Regions from separate parts of the Homo sapiens genome. Here regions 1, 3 and 4 are each linked to region 2. The links are contacts of gene promoters, found by promoter capture Hi-C in blood cells and fetal thymus (Javierre and others, 2016). All regions are on one chromosome and are shown on one strand. Each heading gives the region's core, a stretch centred on a gene start or on the middle of the fragment in contact. The rest is flanking DNA. Distances are from core to core; before and after follow the strand shown. Region 1 overlaps LOC100288254 (a long non-coding RNA gene). Region 2 holds the start of NPM1 (nucleophosmin 1). Region 3 overlaps FBXW11 (F-box and WD repeat domain containing 11). Region 4 overlaps FBXW11 (F-box and WD repeat domain containing 11).

What was found. The method cuts DNA at HindIII sites, captures the fragments that hold promoters and counts their contacts. A CHiCAGO score of 5 or more calls a contact.
Region 1: a fragment that was not itself captured here is called in contact with the fragment with the promoter of NPM1 in region 2 in 2 of 17 cell types (total B cells and naive CD8 T cells); the score reaches 6.0 in total B cells.
Region 3: a fragment that was not itself captured here is called in contact with the fragment with the promoter of NPM1 in region 2 in 2 of 17 cell types (M2 macrophages and megakaryocytes); the score reaches 6.4 in M2 macrophages.
Region 4: a fragment that was not itself captured here is called in contact with the fragment with the promoter of NPM1 in region 2 in 2 of 17 cell types (fetal thymus and total B cells); the score reaches 5.9 in fetal thymus.

The regions. Positions count from the first base shown.
Region 1 is chr5:172,290,876-172,293,575 of GRCh38, reverse strand. All of the region lies in intron 1 of LOC100288254 (a long non-coding RNA gene), which reads right to left. Among named protein-coding and RNA genes, the nearest start is that of UBTD2, 8.5 kb to the right of the region's middle. The HindIII fragment of the contact is 2,761 bases long and covers 33-2,700 here.
Region 2 is chr5:171,386,563-171,389,262 of GRCh38, reverse strand. It overlaps NPM1 (nucleophosmin 1), which reads right to left and starts at 1,414. Exons shown (of 11, transcript NM_002520.7): 1 at 1,257-1,414. The coding sequence starts at 1,314. It overlaps MIR3912 (microRNA 3912), which reads left to right and starts at 2,503; the gene lies at 2,503-2,607. RefSeq lists silencers at 694-753, 1,074-1,133. The HindIII fragment of the contact is 7,200 bases long and covers 1-2,632 here.
Region 3 is chr5:171,900,042-171,902,741 of GRCh38, reverse strand. It overlaps FBXW11 (F-box and WD repeat domain containing 11), which reads left to right. Exons shown (of 14, transcript NM_001378974.1): 5 at 2,642-2,700. Among named protein-coding and RNA genes, the nearest start is that of FBXW11, 110 kb to the left of the region's middle. The HindIII fragment of the contact is 821 bases long and covers 922-1,742 here.
Region 4 is chr5:171,997,698-172,000,397 of GRCh38, reverse strand. All of the region lies in intron 1 of FBXW11 (F-box and WD repeat domain containing 11), which reads left to right. Among named protein-coding and RNA genes, the nearest start is that of FBXW11, 7.6 kb to the left of the region's middle. The HindIII fragment of the contact is 1,683 bases long and covers 576-2,258 here.

The DNA of each region.
Region 1 (2,700 bases), core at 164-2,663, 900 kb before region 2:
TAAGTGGCCAGCTTTTGCGGCACAAACAAGCTTCTCTAGCATAGCTCCTTCAGTATATATGTTGCTCCAGCACCAGGCTCCTGAGGTGGTGGGCAGCTTCTCCAAGGCCCAGATCCTGCAATATGCAGAAGCCTACACCACCTAGCAATGAGCAATTTCTCCAGGTACTTCGTAGTACCCGGTAGTTTCACAGCAGAATGGCTCTAAGTGGGGTACCTCCTATAAACAGCCTTTCAGCATTACAGGGCATATTATCAGCAAGTCCTAGAGAAGGGATTTCCAGCAACTTCCACTGGTGTGGCACAAGAGGAACTTCTCTGCCATTCACCAAGCCAAGGCCATATCCCCTCCAGCAATGGGGCACTGGCTCTCAGCCCTAGAAGGGCCTCTTCCTTAAGTGCACTGTCTCAGCCCTAGGGTTGCTGCTGCTGCTTATCTGCATTCCTCCGTTCTTTAGAGTTTCCTTTTCTCTTCCATAAAATCAAAATAATACCTGATACAAAAAGTGGACAAAGACCTTTAAGGAAAAAAAGAACTATAGACACTGGGTGCAATGGCTCACGCCTGTAATCCCAGCACTTTCGGAGGCCGAGGTGGTGGATCACCTGAGGTCAGGAGTTCGAGACCAGCCTGACCAACATGAAGAAACCCTGTCTCTACTAAAAATACAAACTTAGGGCCAGGTGCGGTGGCTCACACCTGTAATCCCAGCACTTTGGGAGGCCAAGGTGGGTGGATCATGAGGTCAGGAGATCGAGACCATCCTGGCTAACATGGTGAAACCCTGTCTCTACTAAAAATGCAAAAATTAGCCAGGCTTGGTGGCACATGCCTGTAATCCCAGCTACTCGGGAGGCTGAGGCAGGAGAATTGCCCGAACCCGGGAGGCAGAGGTTGCAGTGAGCCGAGCAGTGAGCCGAGATCATGCCACTGCACTCCAGCCTGGGTGACAGAGCGAGACTCTGTCTCAAAAAAAAAAAAAAAAAGTCAGGCATGGTAGCTCATGCCTATAATCCCAGCTACTTGGGAGGCTGAGGCAGGAGAAGTGCTTGAACCTGGGAGGCGGTTCAAGCAACAAGAGCGAAACTACGTCTCAAAAAAAAATTATAGGCAAATATTCATAACCAGAGATGCAATAATTTAGAACAAAATGTTATAAGGGCTAAATGGTAAGAGCTTATGAACACAAAGAAGGAAACAAAAGAAGGAAACAGGCCAGGCACGGTGGCTCAGCCTGTAATCCCAACACTTTGGGAGGCTGAGGCGGGCGGATCACCTGAGGTCAGGAGTTTGAGACCAGCCTGGCCAACATGGTGAAACCCCATCTCTACTAAAAATACAAAAATTAGCCGGGCGTGATGGTGAGCACTTATAATCCCAGCTACTCAGGAGGCTGAGGCAGGAGAATCACTTGCACCTGGGAGGCGGAGTTTGCAGTGAGCTGAGATCATGCCACTGCACTCCAGGGGTGACAGAGCAAGACGTTGTCTCAAAAAAAAGAAAGAAAGAAAAAAAAGGAGGAAACAACAGACACAGGTCTACTGGAGGAGGGAGAGTGGGAGGAGGGGGAGGAGCAGAAAAGCTAACTAGTGGGTACTGGGCTTAATACCTGGGTGATGTAATAATATGTACAACAAACCCCTATGACACGTGTTTACCTATGTAACAAACCTTCACATGTACCCCCAAACCTAAAATAACAATTTTTTTAAATTGCTAAATATGCCACAAAAATCATTTTAATATAGAAATAAAAGAGCTGTTTATGATTCTGAAAAAAAAAAGTTAGCAAATAGAATGCAACAGTACATAAAGAGGACAATACAACCTTGAATTTCCCAGCTTCAAAACTTACTGTAAAACTACAGTAATTAAGACAGTGTAGTACTCGCATAATCATGACATAAAAGATCAATGAAATAAAACTGACAGTCAGAAATAAACTCTAACATTTATGGTCAATTGATTTTTGACAAGGGCATCAAGACAATTCAATGGGGAAAGAATGGCCGGAGGTGGTGGCTCACGCCTGTAATCCCAGCACTTTGGGAGGCCAAAGTGGGTGGATCACTCGAGGTCAGGAGTTCGAGACCAGCCTGGCCAACATAGTGAAACCCTGTCTCTACTAAAAATACAAAATTAGCTGGGCATGGTGGTGCATTCCTGTAATCCCAGCTACTTGGGGGGCTGTGGCAGGAGAATTACTCAAACCTGGGAGGCGAAAGTTGCAGTGAGCCGAGATCGTGCCATTGCACTCCAGCCCAGGCAACAAGAGCACAACTCTATCTCAAAAAAAAAAAAAAGGTGGGCGGGGGTGGATAGAATAATCTTTTCAACAAATGATGCTGGGACACTGGAAATCCACATGCAAAAGAATGAAGTTGGATCCCTACTTTACATCATTTATAAATATTAAGTCAGGCTGGGTGCAGTAGCTCACACCTCTAATCCCAGAACTGTAGGAGGCCAAGGTGGGAGGATTGCTTGAGGCCAGAAGTTAAAGACCAGCTTAAGCAACATAGCAAAATCCCATCTTTAGTTCAAATACATTTATAAAAAATAAAAATAAGTTATTTCATGTTATATGTATTTTACCACAATAAAAATATTAATTCAAAACAGATCAAAGACCTAAATGTAAGTGCTAAAAGTATAAAACTCTTAGAGTGTAAATCTCCATGGCCTTAGACAATGGTTTCT
Region 2 (2,700 bases), core at 165-2,664:
TAACAAATCTCAGCACGGATAATGAACAAGATAAAATTCACGGTAGGATTTGCATTTACTTCAAAGTCTGAATAGTACAAAGATTAGGCTTCTGCAATTAATCCTACTGAGATCAAAAACCCAAGTGGGACTCTCCTTTTTGGGGCAGGACTACCGCAAGTCGAGGGGGGTGGTGCTCCCAAAATTCTGCGAATAGTCTTAGGTCTTGATCTGACTCAAACCGAACACTCTACGTGTTTCTTGTATTTAGAAAAGCAGTTTGGTCAATGCCGCACAAATGGCGGCATGCGAGGACGTCCCCCTAAAACGAAGCCTCATTAATATTCACGAAGCAGCAGCTACGGAGTCAAGCGTCTTGGTTTAGATTTAGTCTCTTATTGCCTTTACTAAGTACAACCTTCGTTAAGTGAGTTTATCTCTGGGCACCAGTATCCTCATCTGCAAAGTGGGGCTAGCTCCACCTACCGCAGTGAGACAGAAAAGGGGCTCAAAAAAATGAGAGCTGCCATCACAGTACATGCTGTAAGCACTGAACAAAGACCTCCAGAACCCTAGTGCTACCAGCCTCTTAACATTTCCCACTTCAACAGAGCCACAGCATCCCTGGCTCACGAGTGGCAACACGCCGGTGAGTCCCGGATGTAGCGCCCACACCCCCCTCCCTCCCCCAACCACGTGGCAACCACGTGCTCCCAGCGGTTGCGGCCTCCTCACGCCGCGCCGCGCCTCCCCACCCCCAGTAACTGGCCGAAGCACGCGAGGTAAGTCTACGTCCGGCAGCTCCAGGCTCTGAGGCCAGAATAACGCCAGGCTGTGCATCTACCCGCTCCAACAAGCAGGCCCATGCTTCCCGGTGAACCCAGCCTCCAGGACCACCAACCCGGGGCCTGGCATCAGAAGCCTATGAACCACCGCCGTTAGAAAATAAACCACGCCTGGAGCTCCGCCACGTATCCCCGGCAAAGGCCGAACTTCCAGGCGGCCGGTTCCACTTTACCTCAGGCCCCGGGCCTCGGACCGCTCACGCCCCAGACGCTTCAGGCCGCTCGTCTCCTCCCCCTTCACGCCACCGGCTCCCCCCGCGGCTCCAATCCCTCCAGGTCCAGGGCTCAGGCAGCTCTTCCCACCCGCTCAGGCCTCCCGTCGGTCTGGCGGTCTCCACCAGACCCGGTTGCAGCCGGATTCCCGCCCCTCACCCCCACCCTCACCGCCACCAGGCCCCGCTCGGCCTCGCTCCAGCTCCCCCCAGCAGTTACCGAAAAGATAGTTCTGGGGCCTCAGGGGGCTCATGTCCATGTCCATCGAATCTTCCATCGGGTGGCGGCACGCACTTAGGTAGGAGAGAAGGCGGACGGAGATAAAAGAACGCTGCTCCAGAGAACAACCGCGCAGGACGGAATCACACCAGGGAAAGGACGCAGGCTCCCCGCGCTTATATATAGACCCTGAAGATCTCGCGAGCGCTTCCCAAGTCCCGCCTCCGCGCGCGTGCTCCGAAGCCCTCCCACCCCCGTACCGTAGCCGTCCTGCGCAAGCGCTTTTCAACCCCACTCCTTTCTACCTCGCCCCCACCTCCTTCCAGGTACTCCGCGGGCTCCCACCGAGCACGCGCACTCGTACACTGGCCCCACCCCTCCGCTGCTGTCGCCTGTGCGCACGCGTGCTTTCCAGTCGTAACGCGCACTCCCCACCTCCAACCCTTCCACGTCCTCTCCCGCTCAAGCGCGCCGGCCTCCCGCCAAGAGTCTGCGCAGCCCACCCTGCAAAATGGCGTCGGCAGCCCTTAGCTGTGTAAGATATGGCGGGTTAGCCGGCTGCGAATGAGCCAGAGAGCACCTCGATTCACCTTTCCCCATCCCCTAGTGCCCTGCAAGCCTCCAAACAGGCGTAATCACTTCAGGAATTTTTTACTTGCCTGAAGGCTTCGGATCGCAGTTAATCGTTACCCCAAAGTTCAGGTGCCAGAGAGAGTGAATTGCGGCTTATTCTTTGTTAGGAAGGAAAGATGTAGTTACCGGCCAGACTTACGGAACTTTGTTTTTCAGCTCTGTCCTTCCTGAGAAAACATCTCCAAAGTCCTTATCTTTACGTAACTTGGGGGCCAAAAGGGGACTGAATCAGTCTCCAAATTAGCAAGGACATCGCCCTAAGAGAGCTCGGAGGGTGGGCCGACTCTGACTTCTTGCCGCTCTTAATCTTTAACATTCCTCCTGAAAGAAAGCGGGTGACTTGTAAGAACTACAGAAGCCTTAATTCGAATATTTGGGAGCGAGCATGGGAATTAACGTTTTAAGCTACACCTTGACAAACTCCGAGGCACCCCAGCACCCCGCGGGCATTGGGGCGTTCTGAAGACCCGTAATCTTTTTTTTTTAAGCCTCAACATATCAAACAAATTTAAGAAGTGAGGAATACAAATGATAGCCTCAGAAAGGAAGACACCCCCACCCCAAGGCATTATTTCTTACAGGAAAATTATAGAGACGATTTCAGTGTCTATCAAGAGAGGAATGAACAGTTAAATTATAACATGTCCATATTATGGGTTAGTTGTGGACACATACTAACGCATAATATGGACATGTTATAATTTAACTGTTCCTTTCTGAGAGCTCCTGTGTCACATAAAGCTTTGAGTCACTTAAATTTGTTATGCCTTTTTTTGTGTGTGTGTGGAGACAGAGTCTCGCTGTGTTGTCC
Region 3 (2,700 bases), core at 83-2,582, 510 kb before region 2:
TAGAACATTGTGAAGCAATTGAAAATCAGTATGCAGAACTATTGGGTACAATTGTGCCCTGTACAGCTTGTACAGTTGCACATGGTAGTCTTGCATGATAGCACCAGAGATGATTGATGAGCAGACTTCCTGGTTTTAAGAACTGGAGAAGGTGTTTTTGGGGGATTTAGCTATTAAATTTGATGTTGTGCTTTAGCAGAATTCTTAGATGAGTTTCAAAGGCTAATCAGCCTCTGAAAAGATTGTGTATGGTTGTGTAAACCTAGAAGGATGTATACAGAATGTGAAAAGTGGTTCCCTTCTCTGGGAAATGGGGTTTAGGGATTTAAAAATTTTTGCTCATCTACACTTTATAAATTTTCTATAATGAACATGAACTAGATATGTTTAAAAGGGTTACCAAGCAGCTAGTGTCAACATGTAAGTGAAAAATTGCAATACAACTTTATGTAGTAAACCCCAGCACGGGAACATGAAAGCAGCCATACCCTCCTCACCTTATTTCCTTTTTGGATAAAGTTACCAGGCTAGTAGGTAGGTCTGAAGAATGATGTAAATAGATGGTAATATCATCATCTGCTGATTTTTCCAAATACCTCCGAGGACAGAATAGAGAGATATGGACTGGGCAATGGCACATATAGATGACTACAGACCGGATGTCGCAGTGTGGGTGCCCTGGGCATATTGATGCGGCATCAGTGCTAGCTTGGAGGGAAATATTATAATAATAGGTACTAATAGCTAGTGTCATGGGTGCTGTCCTTGGTTCTGACCCGTTTAACGTGTTTGCCAACATGGTTTAACATGTTTGCCTTAGTACTTTAGCCCATCATGCAGGTCTGGTGTGGAATACCCACTCTTCTGGGTGTGACAAAAATCAGAATTCTAGAGACTGAAATGGATGGGTCAGACAAAGCTTTGAAGGTGAATTATAGTAAGGATAAATATAAACCGCACAAAGCTGCCCCCCACCTTTCCAACTAGCTGTGCAAATAGAGCATTCGGGGAAATTGTTTCAATAGATGTTTTTGGGGGAGAGGCCTGGGATTTTATTCTAACTTACTGCCATCTTAGGCGTCTTCTGTGATATGACTATCAGATGAAGGCAGTGCAGCCTTTGACCACATTAACTGTAAATGACATGCAGGAAAGGACAGTGGTCCCAGTGTAGTCTTTATTCTTAGACCATAGCTTGGGTCTTTGATCTAGTCCAGAGTAAGAGAATTTTAGTATATGAAGGACCTGGAAATTATAACCAATGGTATAATAATAGTCATTCTTAGAATTGAAGGAACTTTAGTTTGTAAAGCATTTTTCATGCATCATCTCATTTTGATATTTTCAGAATCAAGTAGAGATTATCGTAATCTTATACAGATGAGGAAACTGACTCTGAAAGTTTAATAATTTACCTACATCTGGCCTTTCAACAACCAAGTTTAGTGCTATTATACTACTTCTAATTATTTTGAGAAAAGAGAACAGATATTAACCTTGTAGAGTGCTTGTCTATAAAATGTTTTCATAAAACTGTTGAATTTGATTCTGACAGACAGTGTAAGAAAGGATAGTTGTTACTGGTGATTACCATTTTGTATGTTAGGGCACAAAAATTCAAGGCACAGGGATGTTTCAGTGTTTGTTTCATGTCATAGAACTAGTAAGTGGTGAACCTGGGACTTGAAATGGGAATTTTCTGATGATAAGTTCTGTGTTCTCGTCCCTACACAGAATAAGCTTGGGGAGAAGCTTTATTTCTTGCAACTGTAGAAGACATACTTACCGCCACAGGATGGGAGTTTACAGGTGGCAACAGTGGTGGCCATGTTGATCATCTTCCCATTGTGAATGTCAGGCAGAGGCTGAAAGTGGTTTTCTTTGAGAGTATCCTTGTATCGTGGGAGGTTGAAGCCAATGACCTCTAAGATTCTAGGATTTGTAGACATGGGGCTATTGCTTTTGAGGATTGTCCCATCTGTTTAGGAACAGAAAATGGATACTCACGAAAGGGAGATGAAAAGATTGACAAAAATACATTTAAGCACAATCGACTTTAATTCTTGGATTGCCATTTAACTTTTCATAAGTTTTTCAAGATGAGTCGGTGTTTTGCCTTTTTTGTCTTCTGATCTCCCAGGGATTCACACCGGGTATGGATTAATGGGGATATGATTTGTTATGAGAGACAGTGAGTAAGATGGGAATGAACACAAACTTTGAAGCAAGAAATCCGAGTTCCAGTAGTAAAGCCAAGGGAGTGTAAAATCTTGAGTTCTTTACCTTTCTGTGCTTCATCTGTCAAACTTGGGGCGTCATTGCCCTATAGGAGTGCTGTGAGAGTTATATAAAAGAAAATGAAAAGTCTTATCTTAATATTTGACAAATAACAGAACTGTCCAAGGTCAGCTTTTACACACAGAGAAGAGTTGCTATCAATTGTTTTATCGTAAAAAATCAGAACCAAAAAGAAGTGTATATGTTTATGTACTCATGGATTTGAGTATCTGTAGAACTTTTGATATGACTAAAATATTTTACTTGGTTCAGGATTTCTTTATTCCTCTTATCTTTAAGGAAATGATGGCTGGTACCTTTCTATCTCTCTTCCCGTTCCTTCATTCCCTTTTCTGTTTTGTAGAGCAAGGCTTAGATCACATAGCAGAAAACATTCTTTCGTACCTGGATGCCAGGTCTCTG
Region 4 (2,700 bases), core at 168-2,667, 610 kb before region 2:
AACTACAGAGAGAACCCACCCAGTCCTATTTTTATGCCTGGTATCCTGACAGAAAGAGACTGGTGATTAGTTTATATTGACATTGAGCATTGGGATTTATGTTTGATCGGTTTAGTTTAGACTGACCAAATTGTGGTTTTTGAATTCTTATTCTTACCATCATCAAAGCTGATGGTTTTAACCTTAACAGAATAAGCAGTGAGAATTCATACAAGATTTTCTTCTGAGTTGTATTGTTCATTGAATTAGATGACAATGGGGGAAGAAACGTGTTGGTTAAGAATGTGCTCGTTACCCTTGGTTAGTTTCTGCTGATCGCAATTGCTTAAGAGGAAGTTTGTCTTTGTAGGCAAATGAGAGACAGACCAGGAAGACCTGACAATCCAGTAGGGTATCTCTTACCTGGTTCTTAGTGTTTTAATGAAACTAAAAGATGGAAGAGTTCTGTGATGTCAGCGGGAAGCGTTTTTAGGAAATTCCCTCTCAGGTTGAGTTAACAATGAAGAGCTTCACAAAATGGAAAGCTGTGAAGTATAAACACTGGGACATTAATAGGAAAAATAAAAAAAAAAGCTTTGGCTCTTTGGCTTGTGATAGAGAGGTGTGTAAATATAAGCATATTGAATGTAGGAAACCATTGTATAGTAAAAAGCCTCTGATCCACAGAAGAAAAAGAAAGACTGAGGTTCTACTATTGTGAAAAAGGAACTTGAGTAATTTTTAATGTTTATTTTTTTAGGAGTTAACTGGAGAACATTGAACCAGTTTTGGTAACTAACAATAAAATATATTTTGGCCCTCTGAAATGACTACATGATAGATTCAAAGAGAAAGGGGGCAGAGGGGCAGGAAGAACTCAGTCCTGACACTACTCACCTGGCATCTGTTAATCTTTGTATTACTAGCATAAGGCCTGCCAGCAATTAGGGATTGAAGAAATATATATATACAATTAGGGATTGAAGAAATATATATGTGTGTGTATATATATATATATTTTTTTTTTTTGAAGGGAAGGGAGAAAAATTAACTCACTAGTACAGGGGAAAAGCCTGAGGATTCAAGAGGTCCAGAAATGAGTCTGTTAGTCAAATTGCTGTGGTTGTGTTTTGCTATAACTTGTTTTGCATTTTGGATAGTCGTACCTTGAAAAGCATAGTATACTGTTTTAGCAGTTCGCTACTAGCCATAGTTCCCTAGCTACTTCTGTCAAAATTGGGTTTCCAGTTTATTCTTAGGCTTAGGAGTAATACCACTTAATGGGAAAAACTTGAGAACTCATTATTTGCTTGGGATTTTACTTTTGTGATCTCCTTAAAGTTGTGAGTCTTAAGGTATTTTCATCTGATTGTTATGGCGAGGTTAATCATAGACCGGTATTTCAGTCACTTTAATTGCCTTACCTACAATATGAACAATCAGAACATCTTTAAGAGTCATTGCCTGTGGACTGTCAACAAATCTTAGAATTTAAAAATTACTTGGGTTCAGCTGGATTTGAGATTCTTTGTCACAGTTACAATCTTTGCTGCTAAACACAAAGACTACTTGAGTACCATTATAGTATGTCTTGCCACAGTCTTTTTTTTTTTTTTTTTTTTGAGACGGAGTCTTGCTCTGTTAACCAGGCTGGAGTACAGTGGCACGATCTCAGCTCACTGCAGCCTCTGTCTCCCGGGTTCAAGTGATTCTCCTTCCTCAGCCTCCCGAGTAGCTGGGATTGTAGGCATGTGCCACCAGGCCCGGTTAATTTTTGTACTTTTAGTAGAGATGGGGTTTCACCATGTTGGTCAGGCTGGCCTCACACTCCTGACCTCAAGTGATCTGCCCGCCTCGGCCTCCCAAAATGTTGGGACTACAGGTGTGAGCCATCGAGCCCAGCCTATAATGTGTTTTGTTTTAGCATTAATATTGTGGGCTTTAGGCTGGGCATGGGGGCTCACACCTGTAATCCCAGCCCTTTGGGAGGCCAAGGTAGGCAGATCGCTTGAGCTTAGGAGTTCGAGGCCAGCCTGGGCAACATGGTGAAACCCTGTCTCTACTTAAAAAAAAAAAAAAAAAGACAAGAAAAAAATATCATGGGCTGTAGAATTGCATGGCTCTTTGTTAATTAAATGCTTTTTTAAGTGGCAAGATCTAGGGAATTACCCTTTCAGGATGGCCCAACTGATTCATGTAGGCTGAAATATTTACTCTTCTGTATTTTCATTGTTCTCCATTTTGATGTTAATTAATTTAGGACCTTTGAGAGTAAAGCTTGATTTCTTCTCCTCTCTCAGAAATCATGGGCTTTCTGACCCTTGAACTGTGGAGTCCATAGTGCTCCATGAAAAGGGCATGGGCTCTACTACCTAGTAGATGTGGGACTTTGGATAGGTTACTTCTTTCTGCTCATCTTTTTTTGAGAATTAAATATGGGTAATTAATGTAAAGGGCTTGGCCAGTTAGTAGCTTTTCAATAAGGTAGGTATTACTATAATTACTGCAGGAGCATTTTGGCTATAATGTAGCAATTGTGGAAGTAGCAAATTTATGTTCGAGTAAGTTCAGTCTTTTTGTTTTTATCTTTGTTGTTCTGCTGAATGCTTTTTCTCTTTCCCTTTTAGTTTGTTTAGAATTTGCAGTCTAATTTGATATGGTAGAAAAAGAATATTGATATAATATGGACAGGACTTAATATTTAATGGTGTCACCTAGTAA